Linked DNA regions of Homo sapiens: region 2 is linked to region 1. The links are contacts of gene promoters, found by promoter capture Hi-C in human tissues and cell types (Jung and others, 2019). All regions are on one chromosome and are shown on one strand. The core of a region is centred on a gene start or on the middle of the fragment in contact, and the rest is flanking DNA. Distances in the headings are between cores, read along the strand shown.

Region 1 (2,700 bases), core at 65-2,564:
AGCTAGAAATCTGTGAATCATATTCACATGGGTGGCAGCTGAAGCTGTGGGAGGGCATAAACTCATATTAGGGAGGTGACACTGTCACCTACTTGCTGTGCATCTTTCAGCAAGATAATTAACTGATCTGACACATTATTGAGCATTTATTCTGTCCTGGAATCATATCAAGCAATTTACATGCATTCTCATTTAATCCTCACAACCAGTTTATGAGGCTGAAACTTTTTTTTTTTTAGACCAAAAGCATCTTGGATAAACAGGCCTGAGGCTTGCCCAGGCTGAAGTGCAATGGCGCGATCTCAGCTCACTGCAACCTCCGCCTCCCACGTTCACGCGATTCTCTAGCTTCAGCCTCCCGAGTAGGTGGAATTACAAGCGCCCGCCACCATGCACGGCTAATTTTTTTTTAATTTTTAGTAGAGACAGGGTTTCACCATATTGGCCAGGCTGATCTCAAACTCCTGAACTCAGGTGATTCGCCCACCTCGGCCTCCCAGTGTTGGGATTACAGGCGTGAGCCACCGCGTCCGGCCAGAAACCATTTTTATCTCCTATTTTCAAAAATAAATAAATAAATAAAAATTTTAAAAAAAGAAACTGAGGTTTAGAGTTTAGTTTGTCCAAGATCATACAGTAAAATAATGAGACAAGCCTAATTAAATTGCATGTGCCTCAGTCATTACGCAATCTGCGAGTTTGTTGGGCCTACTGAATCAGAATCCGAATTATTTTAACATGAACCGTAGGCTATTTGTACACTAAGCGTTAGGACTAGCCTCTACCCTGCTTCCAGAATGGGTTCCGCTCAAGCAGGAGGTGAGCCAAGAGCCTCGCTCAGAGTTCTAAAAACACAATGTTTCTCACCTCTGTATCTTTGCACATGCCATTCTCTAGCTGGATTTAATACTCCGGTGCAAGCGTCCAGGTTGGGAGCCCCCGCAGTTCTCTGAGGTACTTTTATCTACTGTAACTCTAGGGCAACAATCCTGGCTTCTCCACTAGTGCGTGAACGTCTCTAGCGTTAAGTTTTTTTCTCACCTAAGTATCCCCAATACTACACAGTGATGACCCAGCGCAAACGACCACTCTTTCAACGCAAGCATGAACTAGCTGATAAAACTTAAAAGTGGCTACAAACGCCTGCGCAGGAGCCCTTCCGGCCCGGGGTGAGACGCGGGTCTAAAGAAAAGGTGGGCGGGAGGTTTAAATAGCTGACTGCAGTCCCCGGACTGGCTGCGCCGCTCGCCGCATGCGCGCAGCTAGCGGGCACGGCTTCAGAGGGCTTTCTCCGCATGCGCGGGATCCCGGATGTGGATCAAGTTGGTGGGAAGCGTGCGGTGCCGCAGCAATGGCGGCGCTCACAATTGCCACGGGTACTGGCAATTGGTTTTCGGCTTTGGCGCTCGGGGTGACTCTTCTCAAATGCCTTCTCATCCCCACATAGTAAGGGACTCGCACGGCCAGGGGCTGGGCGGGGAGGCCCCGCGGTCGGTCAGGGCGGGAGAGAAAGGTGTGGATATCCCTGGGTATGAAGAGAAAACTTTAGGTCGTGTTTGTCGCTATCCTGCCTTTGCTAAGCTTTCTGTTTCGCCAGTTGTTACTTGACTTAGCCCCAGCTGGCTAGGTTCAGACCTGGCGCTGTCTGATTTGGAACAAATCACTTTAACGTTTCTGAACCTCAGGGTCCTCATCCTTAATAGGCAGTTAAGAACCTCTGCCTCCAACAGCCATTCAGCCAGTATTATCAGATGCCTGAGGTGCCAGGTACCGTTCTAACTCCCGGGAGATGCGGTGGTGAGCAAGACATTGCTGGTCCTTGCCCTCGAAGTTGGTGGGTGGAGCTAGACAAACAGGAACTTTTCAGATTGTGATAAAGGAAATAGAGGGTTACTAAGTGGCTGTGCGCTATTCCTTTAGAAGGTGATGTTTGAGTTGAAATTCAAAAAATGAAAAAGAATAAGTGATGTGGAAAGCAGTTCAGGCATAGGAAAGAGTAAGTTCAAAGGCCCTGTGGCAGGAAAGAAGTCAGAGCATTCTAGGAACAGAAAGTGCCCCTTGTGGCTGCAGAGCATTGAGGGAGAGGAGTGGCACAGCATGGGGTGCACTGGGGACAGATAACACAGGGTTTCGAAGACCACAGTTAGACTGCTGTGTAAAAAATGGATGTAGGGCCAAGACTGAAAGCGTGGAAACCAAGAAGCAACCATGAAATGGTGGTGTGTATACAGTAGGTACTCAGTATTTATTAATATTGGCTTCCGCCTTCCCTTCATCCTTCCTCTTTTTTCTTTTTCTCCCTCATCCCTTTTCTCCTTTCCCTCCCACTTCCTAGTTTAGGGTTTGTTTTATTGGTATCCTTTGATTCAGGCTCTTGGTGATCTCTTGTTGAATATGGGAGAGTCATATGTATAGAATGTAAGTCCATACTGATGCGTATATGTAATCATGTAAGTGGAATGTATATGTAGATTCAGTAAAATGATTAACTGTAGGTCTGTGCATAAGATTATTTCTTGCTTTAGTTGCCTCAGGCTAGAAATGTATCCTCAGAGTTGTTTTTTTTGTTTGTTATTTTTTTTTTTTTTGAGACAGTCTCGTCCCACTCTGTCACCCAGGCTGGAGTACAGTGGCACGATCTCAGCTTACTGCAACCTCTGCCTCCCGGGTTCAAACGATTCTCCTGCCTCAGCCTCCGGA
Region 2 (2,700 bases), core at 62-2,561, 37 kb after region 1:
ATAAGTCTTTCTGTCATCAGCTAAATTATCTTTTTTTTTCTATTCTTTTAACAGAACTTCCCATTAAAATCTTACTCATGTTACTATTCACCATATATAGTATTTCGTCACTGAAGACTTTATTCAGGTAATCAAAAAAATGTTTAAAATTATACTTACTCTTGTGAAATGTTTACACCTAAGTGGTCAAATAAGCTCTTTAAATTTTATTTTTAAGTTATAACAGTAATATGACAACATTACAAAAAAAATTGGTAAATAGAGGGAGAAATCACTCAATCCCATCACTCAGTCGAGACAACATAGTTTGTGTCTTTAGTTTGGGGGAGTATTTGAGGAGGACTACTTAAATTAAAATCCTATATGAAAACTCAAAAACTGAATGTAAAATATGCTTTATGAATAAAACTATTAAATACAGATAGATATGGAAAAAACTAAAAGATACTATGTACAAATTTTTTTTGTTCGTTTTTTTGAGACGGAGTTTTGCTCTTGTTGCCCAGGCTGGAGGGCAATGGCGTGATCTCGGCTCACCACACCCTCCGCCTACCGGGTTCAAGCTATTCTCCTGCCTCAGCCTCCCAAGTTACTGGGATTACAGGCATGCGCCACCATGCCCAGCTAATTTTTTTTTTTTTGGAGACGGAGTTTCACTCTTGTCGCCCAGGCTGGAGTGCAGTGGCGCGATCTCCACTCACTGCAACTTCCGCCTCCTGGGTTCAAGCGATTCTCCAGCCTCAGCCTCCTGAGTAGCTGAGATTATAGGTATGCATCACTACCACACCTGGCTAATTTTTTATATTTTTAGTAGAGGTGGGGTTTCACCATGTTGGCCAGGCTGCTCTCGAGCTCCTGACGTCAGGTGATCCACTTACCTTGGCCTCCCATAGTGCTGGAAGTACAGGCGTGAGCTGCTGTGCCCGGCTAATTTTGTATTTTTATTAGAGATGGGGTTTCTCTGTGTTGGTCAGGCTGGTCTTGAACTCCCAACCTCAGGTGATCCACCCACCTCGGCCTCCCAAAGTGCTGGGATTACAGGCGTTGAGCCACCGCACCCAACTATGTACAAATTTTACTACAGAATTATAGATGGAAACTTTTTCTCTTCTAAACTGTATGTAATGTTAACTATAATTTTTTTTTTTTTTTTTTGAGACGGAGTTTCACCCTTGTTGCCCAGGCTGGAGTGCAATGGCACGATCTCAGCTAACTGAAACCTCCGCCTCCCAGGTTCAAGCGATTCTCCTGCCTCAGCCTCCCTAGCAGCTAGGATTACAAGCATGCGCCACCACACCCAGCTGATTTTGTATTTTTAGTAGAGATGGGTTTCTCCATGTTGGTCAGGCTGGTCTCAAACTCCTGACCTCAGGTGATCCACCGTCCTTGGCCTCCCAAAGTGCTGGCATTACAGGTGTGAGCCACCATGCCCGGCCAACTGTAATTTTTTAAAGCTTGCTTATGGTTCATAACTGTGTCCATAAAAACTTATATAATTAACTATGTTAAAATGCAGTTATAGCCATGTGACCCAGCAATTCCACCCCTATACCCAAAAGAATGGAAACAGGGACTCAACAGATACTTGTACATCAGTATTCATTGTAGCATTATTCATACTAGCTAAAAGATGGAAACAACCCAATGTCCATCAACAAATACATGATAAAGTGTGATATATACATATAGTGGATTATTCAGCCAAAGAAAAGAATGAAGTTCCAATACATGCTACATGAATGAATCTTGAAAACATGCTAAGTGAAAGAAACGAGAGAATAGAACAAATATCATATCGTTCCACTGATAGGAAATTCTAGAATAAACAAACATAGAGACAGAAAGTAGATTAGAGGTTGAGGGAACAGGGGGATGGGAAGTTATTGTTAATGGTTCCAGAGTTTCTGTTTGGGGTCACGAAAATATTTTGAAGGTGGATAGTGGCGATGGGCGCATATTATTGATCTACTTAATACCATCAAACTGTATACTTAAAAATGGTTAAACAAATAGCAAATTTCATGTTATATATATTTTACCAAAATAAAAAATATTTTAAAAATCTGGTGAAACCTTGTCTCTATAGAAAATACAAAAATTAGCTGGGCATGGTGGCAGGCGCCTGTAATCCCAGCTACTTGGGAGGCTGAGGCAAGAGAATCGCTTGAACCCAGGAGGTGGAGGTTGCAGTAAGCTGAGATTGCACCACTGCACTCCAGTCTGGGTGACAGAGCAACGCTCCATCTCAAAAAGAAAATTTTTTTTAAATCTTCAATTCTATATTGTTTCTCATGTTCTTATTCCAATGTCACAGCACCCAACCCCTTTACCTCTTTCAAATGCAGAACTAATTCTCTCTGAGCAGCTTGAGCTAAATAACAGCATAGGTCAATGGTGGAGTAAATTTAGATTGTTGAGATAATATAACGTATATAATTATCATTTTTTTCTAAATGTGAAACTTATTTTTTATTTTTATTTATTTTTTGAGACAGAGTCTCACTCTGTCGCCCAGGCTAGAGTGCAGTGGTGCCATATCGACTCACTGCAACCCAGTTAAAGCAGTTCTCCTGCCTCAGCCTCCCAAGTAGCTGGAATTACAGGCCTGTGCCACCCTGGTCGGCTAATTTTTGTATTTTTAGTAGAGATGGGGTTTCTCCATGTTGGCCAGGTTAGTCTAGAACTCCTGACCTCAGGTGA

Evidence for each region. The method cuts DNA at HindIII sites, captures the fragments that hold promoters and counts their contacts. A contact is called where the count stands out against the background at its distance.
Region 2: a fragment that was not itself captured here is called in contact with the fragment with the promoter of ALG8 in region 1 in 3 of the 25 tissues and cell types used here (liver, neural progenitor cells and thymus).

What each region holds. Positions count from the first base shown.
Region 1 is chr11:78,138,240-78,140,939 of GRCh38, reverse strand. It overlaps ALG8 (ALG8 alpha-1,3-glucosyltransferase), which reads left to right and starts at 1,314. Exons shown (of 13, transcript NM_024079.5): 1 at 1,314-1,446. The coding sequence starts at 1,352. It overlaps KCTD21-AS1 (KCTD21 antisense RNA 1), which reads right to left and starts at 1,147. Exons shown (of 3, transcript NR_102281.1): 1 at 868-1,147. RefSeq lists enhancers at 1-581, 742-851, 1,462-1,541, 1,622-1,731. The HindIII fragment of the contact is 8,215 bases long and covers 1-2,700 here.
Region 2 is chr11:78,101,407-78,104,106 of GRCh38, reverse strand. It overlaps ALG8 (ALG8 alpha-1,3-glucosyltransferase), which reads left to right. Exons shown (of 13, transcript NM_024079.5): 12 at 55-127. Among named protein-coding and RNA genes, the nearest start is that of NDUFC2-KCTD14, 23 kb to the right of the region's middle. The HindIII fragment of the contact is 6,932 bases long and covers 1-2,700 here.